Regions from separate parts of the Homo sapiens genome. Here all the other regions are linked to region 1. The links are contacts of gene promoters, found by promoter capture Hi-C in blood cells and fetal thymus (Javierre and others, 2016). All regions are on one chromosome and are shown on one strand. The core of a region is centred on a gene start or on the middle of the fragment in contact, and the rest is flanking DNA. Distances in the headings are between cores, read along the strand shown.

Region 1 (2,875 bases), core at 161-2,660:
TGAACATGTAGTAGCAACAAAACTTACTTTTTTCAAATCAAAGAAATAATATCTTATGCAGATAATGTGTTCTACTTTAATGCAGTAATACCATCCTCATCCAGGTCAAAATTTGTACCAACGATTTAAACTGAGCTACAAACTTCAACATAAATGAAAAATATTTCTGAGGTCTAAGGATTTTTTAAAACCAGTAAGTAGTCCATAAGAAAGATACAGCATCATCCTCCAGACCTCACTCATCAACTATCCGTAGGGCAAGGCAGATGAAAGACAGCAAGAACACAAAGAAAGTAGGCAAAGAAATGTCTGACCTCAAAGAAAGAAGAGGTCCATACAACTAAAAGCACAGTAGAATAACTACAAAAGTAAAGCAGTATTAGAGCAAACGCACCCTGGTGTAAAATCCAATAAAATACAACTACTGTCCCTTGATCGCATTGCTAAAAGAACTCAAAATGCTGTTTCAAGACTATATCCCCATTCTGCAGATAGTGAAACTACGCCAGGTAACTCTTGCTTGTACAGTGTCCGTCGTGACTGTGAAAAGGGGAACGCACTCGCTTCTCACATGCTAGGCAGGGTGTTAGGACACTGCGTGAAGGGGAATCCTGGTCTGGCTACAGGAGGCTTTTTGTTTCAGTGCTTGTACAACTTTCATAACTGGAGAGTAGTCCGCAACCATCTATTACTCCAAGAGACTGAGTCAGAAACCTGCTGTCTCCTCACATGACTTTCAAACACTGCGAGCGAGTGGCGACACTGCGAGCGAGTGGCGACACTGCGAGCGAGTGGCGGTACCGCGAGGAGGCCGCCCAAGCCCTGGGCTGGCGCGGATATCTGTGGTTCCGAAACGCTGCGGCAGCTTCTGTCAGTCCTGGGACTTCTGCGGGCGGTTGGCAAGGTCGGCCCTGCTCGCCCAGGCTACGGCCTCGCGGACCCCAGGTCACGCCTCCTTTGAGGAGTACTAGAGCCTCCGTCCTCCCCCACGCTGTTTCCCCATCTGCACTCAGTAAGTCAGACCAACCGGCCCTTGGCGCCCCTCCAACTCTACCATCGAACTGTCTGGGCTAGCGGCCACTCAGCCGCCCACCCGACCCACCCGACCCACCCGACTTAGACGGTCCTCGCCGTCAGGAGCACTCTGAGGGGTCCGGCCCGCGGCGCCCCGCACTCACCCGGCTGACGTTTCACCGCCATCACTGACACTAGATAGTGCGCGATGTCAAAAAAGGGAAACATGGACGTGCGGGAGAAGGCCAGAGCCAACTCGTCCCATGGAGAATCCATAACGACCACCGACCGCGGCAACCGAAGCAGCCGCGGCTACTGGTTCCCCGCGCTCGCGCGGTGAGGAGTAGGAGAGGGCACAGCCGCGGCCGCCCGCTCCTCCGCGCCGGCTCCAGCTCCGCGCGTGCGCCCTGGCGCCGAGGGGGCGGGGCCGCGCTTCGCGGGAGCCGCAGGCTCACCGGCGCTAGGCGGGTGGGCGGGGCGAGCGGGTTCCCCGCGGCTCCAGCCGGCTCTTGCCTCGGTTCTCCTAGTAAGGGTCCAGCGTCTTCTTGGTCCTGGGCGCAGTGCAGGACCTGGAGAGCGTGCAGATGAACAAAACACGGTCCTCAAGGGGAGACGCTCAGAGTTGGATTTATTTCTGTAAATTGATGTCATTCACCTAACATTTATCGAGCAACCACAGTGCAAGTCACACTGTGACTTACTGGAGATATAAAAATAAAACAATAATATCCTGACCTCAAGAACTATGCGTTCCCTGAAAGAGATTTTTTATAAAAAGAGAAAAAACGCACATAATGGTACAAAAGCAGGTACTGAGAAGTATAGCTGCCGTGCGAGAGCAGTTCGAAACGAAGATTACAATTCTGGGAAGTGAGTAAAGTGACATGTGAGCTGGACTTTAAAAGTTAAGTGAGAAACACAAGCTAGGTGGGAGATGGAGGGAGGTGTTTTGGGTTGACTACAAAGTGAGAAATGAGGTTGGGAAAAGTCCTCGAATGGCAGACAAAGCCAGGCAGTTTGGCTCCAGAGGTTAAATTCTTGATCAATCACTATGTTAAGCTCAGAGCCAGAATCTCTTCTCCTAATCTCTACGCTAACTGGGTTGTTTGGTGGAAGGTGAGGGAGTAGAGGTGCAACGAAGCAACAAGATTAAGAATAGATTGATGAGAAGCGACTGACAACGGAAAATCAGAGGGTATTCACTGGTCCAAGCAAAAGGTAGTGGAGGCTGTGGCAGCAGAAATTGAGACCAATTGTGGGAAACATGGGTAGAAGCAGAATATCGTCAGTGAGTGTCAGTCTGTACAGGCGGGAAAGGAAGCATTTGTCAAATAAAATGAGGAACGGGTGAGTAGGAGGATTGTGGTTGCATTCTGATAAATAGGAAACAAGAAGGAATAGGTTTGGGTAAGAAAAAAAACTAGCTTGGCACACTTATTTGATGTGTGAACAGATTATGCTGGCACCAGGAAATTGGAGAAACGTGATTAGCTGCTAGGTAGGTGACAGCTTCACGGGTGTATGCACTGCAAAAGGAGAATTTTTTTTATCTGAATATGTATTCATTAATTTTAATTCATTTAACAAAATGTTTTTTGCGTGCCTACTATGTAACCAGCATTTTGCTGGATGTCAGAAATACTGCCCTAAACACTAAGTGTTTAAAACGTAGGAAAATTGTAGTAAATCTCTACACTTCATTACTTATCAAGAAAGAATAGACTTGTTCAAATACTTTTCACGTGTGGTTTTCTAAGCAAGCACTTCCCGTAGAGAAAAGTCTTTAGACCTGTAGCACACTTTCTAGCAAAACTAAGGGGAAAAAAACCACCTGTGAATATTTATACTTTCCTGTTTAAGT
Region 2 (2,875 bases), core at 131-2,630, 4.1 Mb after region 1:
GCTGGAAAAAGAAAACACTGAAAAGTCTAAAAGCACAAAATAAACAAAGCTGGGAGGGAAGACAGTAAGAGTTATTTGTTTCTAATTCATTCTGAAACCCAAGGCTTGTATTTACCAGTCCTTTCTGCTAAAGTCATCCAGCTACTGAAGAGGAGAGCCTGGAAGTAAAGTCTGGAGGAAAGGTAGTTGACTGATAAACTGTCCTACAGGTGACAGTCAAGGAGAGAAGAGGTAGAGGTTTGGTGGTTAATGAATAAGTTCCTGACTAGCCAGCTCCTCTTCTTCTCTTGACTTAGATCAACCAATGTAGATGCGATGAAAATCATTGGCACCAAAAGCAGCATTACACTTGGGACATTTGCGCTGGCGGGTGTCATAGCGTGTCTTCACACACTCAAAGCAGAAGACATGAAAACACTTAGTAAGAACAGCATCCTTTTTACGCATGTTACAGCACGGACAGGTCAAGCGTGCCTAAAAAGAAAAGATGTCAGAGTTTGAACAACCATGAAAGTTTATGATCCAAATGGCTCTCATATACTACACAACCAAGAAGAAAACCCACAAGGCACTAAAAAAAGAGCATCATTTCCCCCCAACCTCCAAAATAAACCATTCTCTGGTTACTATCATGCAAATTATTCTCCCAGTCTATTAGGCCACTTAAAGCTTTGACAAAAAACTAATCACTAAGGCATTTTTTCTAACCTTGTAATCCTTAATCTCTTCCATCAGAATCTCATCACACTTGGGTACATTGTCTGGTTTCTTTGTGGTCTCCAGCTTCCTGCGAAGTCTAGAGATGTCCTCCTGTGGCAGGATAGCATACCCATTAGACACACTTACCCAAATCTATCATTTTTGAGAAAAATAATAGACTTGAGTTTTCTGTTGTGAAAAGAGGGGACTTTCTATCCTTTTATGGTCAATTATCTTGTAGAAATGTAGAGAACTGCAAATGGCAGGATATTTTCTTTTGTTTCAGAAGAGGCAACCATAATTATATCCCCAAATTAGAATTGCATCTATTACCAATTCAGTCCTGTGAAAACACATCTAAGAGTTTAGAGGACAGTCTATTTTGTTTTATAGTAATTAGTTTTAAGCTGAAGGTAGAACGGTTTAAAATAATTCAGAGACTTACGGATAAAGACAGAAAGACATCATGAGAAACAGCTAGCATGACAAAAATAGAGACATTATACAAGAACTTGAAAATCCTCTACTGCTGCTATGCTGTTACTTCTTTAACAATTTACTAATTCATTAATTTAACAAATATTTATTTTGTGCCTACTAGGTGCAAGGCACCATAAAAGAGTCTGAGGATATGGCAGTGAAGAAAACAGACTTACTCTCTTCCCTCAACAAACTTCCTCAAGTCTAGTAGGAAATGACATACATTGGACTAATGATTCTTTCATGATATGGGTCACTTCCGACCTCAGAAAACACCTAAAAGGTGACAAGAAAAGACAACTGCTTTTACCTGGGCTCGTTTGAAATTGAACATGTCCTTTTCTTTGGTAACACTGTTCTCCACGATCTCATCCTGAAAATCATGTAGCTTCTTCTGAGCCAACTCCAGTTGTGCTTTGAGGTCATCTGCAAGCTGGGCTGCCTCCATTGCCTATGTAGGATGTACAAATAAGTGACACCATTGTATCACCTATTATTGCCAGTGAGGCAAAATGTTAGCCCAAGTTGAAGGAATAAAGCGAACTTACAATCTCAACAGTGTTATACTTATTTGTTCCACTGAGACTAACCATCATTAGATTAATCAATCATACCTTGCGTTTATTCATCTCTAAGGCTTGGGTCCTAAGACCCAGCTCTTTCTCCCCTGTGCCAATGTTGCTCTGTAACAGATGCTCCTTCTCTTCCAGTTTCCTTACTACCTGTAGCTGGGCATCAACCTTTGAACAGAAAATCAGATTTTAACACAAATGAAAAGATTAAAAAAAGAAAAAAAACTATTCTGTTAATCTATAAGCCCACAAAATACAGTATGTTAGAAATCTCAAACTATTACTGATTTTGCCCATGAACCCTTCAAAATACATCAAGACTATGATAACTGAAAGCTTTACTTTTAATATAAAATATTGTGGAAGATTCAGTAAGAGTCTGAAAAATGACTGAAAAGATTCTTTTCCAAATTGCCAAAAATAGAGAATGCATGCTAATGCTTAAAACCTGGCAATTCATACTATAACATATAAATTAGAACTCAAACAAAAGTCCAAGAGTATTTCCTTCAGAATGGCTAGACATTCTAAAAGAGTCTTTTTTGAAATTAATGCACAAAGTAGAATCAAACAATATTAAAGTGTAAAAAGTAAAATCACAAACACCCACCTCCTAACCTCACCCACAACTCATCCCAATATGTAGAGGTAACCATTCTAACAGTTTCTCACACTGCCTTCAAAAAGCATATCAAAAAGATAGTCCACCATGATCAAGTGGGTCTCACACCAGGGATACAGGGATGGTTTGACATCCACAAGTCAATAAATCTGATACACCATATAAACAGAATTTTTAAAAAATCACATGATCATCTCAATAGATGCAGAAAAAGCATTTGACAAAATCCAGCATCCTTTTATGATTAAAACTCTAGCAAAATCAGCATAGAAGGGACATACCTTAAGGTAATAAAAGCCATCTATGACAATCCCACAGCCAACATTATACTGAACAAGGAAAAGTTGAAAGCATTCCCCCTGAGAACTGGAACAAGACACAGATGCCACTCTCACCACTTCCATTCAACATGGCACTGGAAGTCCTAGCCAGAGCAATCAGACAAGAGAAAGAAATAAAAGGCATCCAAATTGGTAATGAGGAAGTCAAACTGTCACTGTTT
Region 3 (2,875 bases), core at 269-2,768, 4.1 Mb after region 1:
TCCTTAGTACGGCATCTGAGGATTTGCCTAGTGTGGCCCTGTTTCTCTCTCACTGCATATCTTTGTCCATGTGTGCCATTATAACAAAATACCCGAGACTGGGTACTTTATAAAGAAGAGAAGTGTATTCCCCACAGTTCTGGAGGCTGGAAGTTCAAGATCAAAGCACCACCAAGTTTATTGTCTTAGTAAGGGCCCAGTCTCTGCTTCCAAGATGGCATCTTGTTGCTTGTCCTCCACAGGGGACAAATGATGTGTCCTCCCATGGTGAAAGGCTGGAAGGGCAACAAAAGGGACTAGCTAGCTTCCTCAAGCCCTTTTATAAGGGCACTCATCCCTTCATAAGGGCTCTTAATACCAACCCTTGGAGTTTAGGTTTAAACATATGAGTTTGAGAGGGACATATACATTCAAACTATGGCACTATTCATGCCTTGTATACTTTTCCTTCAGCCACAGCAGTCAGTTTCACAACACTATACCACTGTCCAGGAAAGTCATGTCTTTTTTCCTTTGTTTATGCTACCCTCAGGTTAGTATGTTCACTTTCCCCACCCAACCTCCCCATCCTGCCTGTCTTATTCAAATGTTATCTCATGAACCAGCTTCCCCACAAATCCCAGGAAGCATGGATCAAATGTATCATGGAGGTATATGTTTGTTTTCTCCCTAGACTCAAGCTGTTTAAAAGGAAAGATATAACTTCCTTCTATCTCTATCCCATGATACGCAGAAGAGTGCCTGGCACCTAGTATTAACTCAATATATTATGTATTTTTACTTCTACGGGATTGACTCTTGTCATTGATGTCAATGGCTAAATAATGGCTGTTTTAGAGTACATGTGAGGGTTTTCTTAATCTACACAAATCACTTAGCAAAGTGCTGGCCACAGATATTTATTGTAACTACTATTGTTGCTATAACTGCTGCTGTTTTGGTATATAGCAGTAGAGCAGAAAGAGCCCAGGCTTTGGAGCTGAACAGAAATGGACTGAAAGACCAACTTTGCCACTTAAAAGTTGCAGTAACTCCACTTTCCTTAGTTATAAAATAGACGTTATATATCTATTTTAATGTAAAACACTTGGCAGAAAGTAAGCAACCAATAAATATCATTAAGTTCCTTCTCTTTCTCTTCTATGCCTTTTTTGTGGCTTGGCTCGGTTTACTACACTTCTCTGGTCTCACTTTCCTCCTCTGTAAATGAACTAGATGATTTCCATGTTCCCTACCAGATCCAAATTCCAAAGTTACTGAACTCACCATCTTTTTCCCCTTAAATCTACTCATTCTCTTCCCTGAGGGACGTTCTTTCCTTGACAGCTACCAGGTATATTAAATTGTTTCAATTCTCTATCTCTATCTCTCTCAATCTCTAAGAGACCATAAGGTGGTCCAGACCCAGGGCCTTGGCACAACTCCAGGGGCCATTTGCACAGTGGATTAACATACGAATAGCGCCTGTCAACTGAAGAATCATGAGCTTCATAAATTTGGCCAGGAGATCTTTAGTTCTCATAAAGGGTTGCAGCCAGCAGGCCAGCCATCCTGCAGAATGGGAAGCATAGCCTCAGCAGAAGCTGAGAGCAAGCACTTCAAGGGAGGGGTAAAAGGGAACAGGAATTTATGCTGAGTGGGGTGGCTGAGTATACGTATTGAGTAAGCTATAGGAGGAGTCATAAATATTTATGAAAAGAGATACATGCACATGTGCAGTTGAGCTTCATGCCTCTTCCTGGGCCCATGTTCAAAAAATGGTGGTGTTAGCATGACCCGAGGGTGGAGATTTTGGTCTTCTGATGTCCAAATGTGAAGCAGAGGACATGAAAACCCTCACTATGCATCCCCCACAAGTTGGCCAAAACCATCTGGAGATTGTGGTCATTTTTTAGGAAGGGTGCATTGGGAAACTGGTGAGCTGTCACACTGAAACTGCAAAGAGGGAGGGAGAATCTGGTTATGGCCTTAGATGATTAGCTAAAGGTGATAAAGCAATGAGTTATCGGTTTCTTGTTTTCCAGAGCTAGCTTTTGCTTACTTCTTAAGAATGAATTATGGCTAAAGGTTAATAAGGAAGGGACAACTGAGGCATGACAGACCTCCCATCCAATCAAGGCCAGGAACTCAGTTTTTAAGGTTTCTTCGGGGTCCCCATGGACAAGAGAAAGTTCGTTCAGTCGGTTGGAGAGCTTTTAATTTTATTTTTATTTCTCACCCTCTAGGCATTGGGTGCTCCTCGGCAGCCCTCAGTCCAACCCTGGCTGAATTTCTTTCATGATGTATAATGAAGGTCACAGAACACACAGGGAGAAATAGTCTCCAGCTGTCCTTGAGTCCAGAAAAAATGAATATCCATCTGAAAACCAAAGAGTACACAAGCATTGGGCCAGGTATATCATTGTATTCATGGCCTTTTCTTTCCTATTCTGTCACAGACTTTGCAAATGGGCATCAAACACTTCTCTGGGCTCTTTGTGCTGCTGTGCATTGGATTTGGTCTGTCCATTTTGACCACCATTGGTGAGCACATAGTATACAGGCTGCTGCTACCACGAATCAAAAACAAATCCAAGCTGCAATACTGGCTCCACACCAGCCAGGTGAGTGCCACAGGTGTCTTGCTCCAATATTCTTAAACTGTACAATTCCTAGGGATGGGAGGATCCAGAGCCCTATGTCAGACTACTAAGTTATGTTACCACAATAACGAGGGTGGGGTAGGCACTCTCATTAGAGCAGAAGGAATTCTCTCTATCCCATTAATTCACTTTTCCCTTAAATTAAGGCATCCCACAGTGCTCCTTCCTTTCCTATAACCCTCCACTGTTGTTCATAATAGAAGAAATAGAACTTTTTTAACCAGGTTTCACTT
Region 4 (2,875 bases), core at 124-2,623, 3.4 Mb before region 1:
TCTTGTTAATTGGAATCTGCAAGTGGTGAGCGACTAAACCTGCGTTTTGGTTATAAAACTCCAAAGGCCATCTGAAATACTGAGACCTAAAACTTACAATCGAGATGGATAGGGAATTACTTTTTCCTTTACTTCCTTTACTAAATCCCTTTGTCTCCAAATCTATCAAGCAATAGTTTCTTTATCTGCAAACTGTGGATTATGTTACCTGTCTTGTCTGCTTTAGAAGGGAAACAAAAATTATGTAGAAATTAATAGGAATACTATTGAAACAGGAAAGGGACAACTTGCAAGGTTTGAAGCAATCACATGTTGAGTACTCAGTCAAGGCTTTCTTTTTTTTTTTAAATCAAAATGTTGATTGGGATATTTTATGGGTAGCAGGCTTGGATCCCAGCACTTTTCCAATAGGGGAACAGAAGCACCTTGTACCGCCCCAGAGTTTCCCTTCCCCCACACAATAACCCTAAAGCAAAAGCTATTATTATTATCATCGCCATGTGACAGAGGAAAACTTGAGATTGGGGGCTTAACTGACATTACATCAAGTCTCAAAAAGAAACAGTGGCAGTTTGAGACTTTGATCTACGACTCTTTTAAGAGTTTAGATTGCGTCCACAGCGAAACCTGCACAAACAGTTGTCAACAGCGGCTGCAAATTACAGGCTTATGAGGAACGTTTGAAAAATGCCAAGAGTTCTTTCCTCAGGCCAAATACTATGGTAGATAAAAGTATAGCCTTTGGAGCCAGAATCCCTGAGTTTGAATCTTGCCTGTGCCACTTGGTAGCTGTGTGACTCTGGCTGCGTACTTAACGGCTCTGTCTCAGTTTTTCTGTTGGTAAAATGAGGATAATAACACCTTCTTTGTAGGGTTGTTCTAAGGATTAAATGAGTTAATAGGAGTGAGCCACTTAGAATAGGGCCTGTTATATGGTAATCTCTATTTAAAATCCTGTCAGATACACCAAAGAAAACACTTTAAAAATATCTGTTAAATAAATCAGTAAAACAGAATCGGGGCATTGGTTCTTTAAAAGTACTCCCCCACGGTATTCTAGTATGCAGCTTGGGTTTTAATATCTGAATGTGGCGCCTTTTGGGATCTCGCCTCGCGAGAAATTGACATTAACGAATGAGTGAAAGGAGCTTCCCCCCCCCCCCCCCTCCAGGAAGATATAGACCCTGCAAACTTGTTAGCAGGACCTTGCGGACACCAAGGAGGCGGAGGCGTTTTCCCCATTTCCCCTTCGGGAGTTGTAGTTTCCTGCAAGCGCTTGGTGGGTCTGTAAACCAGCGGGGAACTACAACTCCCACAATCTCGCGCGCCTCCCGCCCTGCCTCCCGCCCGCGTTTCTAGCCCGACTCCCATTACCGCCCCTCGGGGGCGGCTGTGGCGGAGGAACGATGGCCGACGGCGGCGGCCCTAAGGACGCGCCAAGCCTGCGGAGCTCTCCCGGGCCGGCGCCGCGGGTCCCGCGCGCGGTCGGGCCGAGTGGCGGTGGCGGGGAGACCCCGCGGACCGCGGCGCTGGCGCTGCGCTTCGACAAGCCCATTAAGCAGGCCTTCTACAACACCGGGGCCGTGCTGTTCGTGTGCCTGTGCTGCGGCGCCGCGGTGCTGGTCTACTTCATCCTGGAGGCCTTCCTGCGGCCGCTGCTCTGGGCCGTGCTATGCGGCACTTTTCTGCACCCCTTCAAGAGCTCGCTGACGCGCCTGGGCCGCCACTGGCTGCAGCGCCTGCACCGCGCGCACACGCCCATCGTCCTGGCCGCGCTGCTCCTGCCGCTCTGCTTCGTCGACTACGGCGTCGAGGCCCTGGGCGAGCAGGCGCTGCGCCGCCGCCGCCTGCTCCTGCTGCTCGGCGCCGGCGGCCCGCTCCTGTACGGCCTCTACTGCCTCGGCAGCTACTTGGGCGTGCAGGTGCTGCTGGTGCACGCTGCCACGCTCATCTGCCGCGGGCTGGACTACTTCAGCAGCCTGTGGGTGAGTGAGCGGCAGTCCGCCCCCGTCCCCCGCCCGTGGTCCCGGCGCTCTGGGGTGCAATCCTGCAGCTGTTCCTCCCGGTGCAGGGGCGACGAGGGGCCACACCTGTGCTGCAGTGACCGTCCGTCTCCGCTTTCCTTCTCACACCTCAGGAATTTGGCGGACATTCTTCCAAAAAGGGGGCGGGCGTGATTTGAAACAGCCTCCCTGCTTTTCGCCTTGTTTCAATCCTAATAGGCCCTCTTAGGGGGACAGTGCCCTGGATTGAGAATCGTTATTTCGCTTTGCAGAGAGAGGCCTCAGAGCATGGCAGTGGGGCTTGGTTTTACTTCTGGTTGGAGAGGGCGGGGGTGCTTCGGCCACCCTCAGTTCTGCGCATCTGAATGTCAGAGCTGGAAGGGACCTTAGAGATTCTAGGCCAACTTGCCATCCTGCAGATAGGAAAGGTGACCTCTTACCAGGCTAGGGCTACTTAGGGACAAAGAGGGGTTTGGGTGTCTTAGATTTCTTACAAGTCCTAAAACAAAGCTTGCTTCACTGGCTGGTGCTGCCTCTCAGTTCAGGTGATTCCTGTATAATTTGTGCAAGGCACTGGGTGCTGAGCTGCCTGTGCTTCTTCCTCTCCACGCTTTACTTTTAGGTAACTGCTTTTGTTGTGCAGGGACTGGTGTACCACAGCACACCTCCTCCCGCCTGGAGTAAAGCAGCTGACCGCGTGAAGGGGAGAGACGTAGATTTGTGATGCTTGGATTAACCTGAGCTTACTCTTACAAAACCAGGGAGCTTTAGAATTGGAAAGATTTCAAAGGTAATCTAGTGACACAATTCCTAACTCAGACTATATTGTGGACTAGTTAATTATCCACATATTTAACTGGAGACTGTTAAAA

What was found. Contacts are between HindIII fragments. The CHiCAGO score rates a contact against its expected background, and 5 or more counts as called.
Region 2: a contact is called between a fragment that was not itself captured here and the fragment with the promoter of TMEM38B in region 1, in 1 of 17 cell types (total CD4 T cells). The highest score is 6.3, in total CD4 T cells.
Region 3: a fragment that was not itself captured here is called in contact with the fragment with the promoter of TMEM38B in region 1 in 1 of 17 cell types (naive CD8 T cells); the score reaches 5.8 in naive CD8 T cells.
Region 4: a contact is called between the fragment with the promoter of TMEM245 here and the fragment with the promoter of TMEM38B in region 1, in 1 of 17 cell types (total CD4 T cells). The highest score is 7.6, in total CD4 T cells.

Annotation. Positions count from the first base shown.
Region 1 is chr9:105,693,076-105,695,950 of GRCh38, reverse strand. It overlaps TMEM38B (transmembrane protein 38B), which reads right to left and starts at 1,410. Exons shown (of 6, transcript NM_018112.3): 1 at 1,179-1,410. The coding sequence starts at 1,290. RefSeq lists a silencer at 1,307-1,576. The HindIII fragment of the contact is 6,405 bases long and covers 1-2,875 here.
Region 2 is chr9:101,559,845-101,562,719 of GRCh38, reverse strand. It overlaps RNF20 (ring finger protein 20), which reads right to left. Exons shown (of 20, transcript NM_019592.7): 17 at 1,794-1,919; 18 at 1,490-1,630; 19 at 709-810; 20 at 1-474. The coding sequence ends at 298. Among named protein-coding and RNA genes, the nearest start is that of RNF20, 27 kb to the right of the region's middle. The HindIII fragment of the contact is 1,418 bases long and covers 672-2,089 here.
Region 3 is chr9:101,578,924-101,581,798 of GRCh38, reverse strand. It overlaps GRIN3A (glutamate ionotropic receptor NMDA type subunit 3A), which reads left to right. Exons shown (of 9, transcript NM_133445.3): 7 at 2,439-2,603. Among named protein-coding and RNA genes, the nearest start is that of PPP3R2, 15 kb to the left of the region's middle. The HindIII fragment of the contact is 3,086 bases long and covers 1-2,875 here.
Region 4 is chr9:109,118,445-109,121,319 of GRCh38, reverse strand. It overlaps TMEM245 (transmembrane protein 245), which reads left to right and starts at 1,373. Exons shown (of 18, transcript NM_032012.4): 1 at 1,373-1,985. The coding sequence starts at 1,407. RefSeq lists silencers at 1,224-1,273, 1,414-1,583, 1,934-2,043 and an enhancer at 1,694-1,743. The HindIII fragment of the contact is 5,277 bases long and covers 1-2,515 here.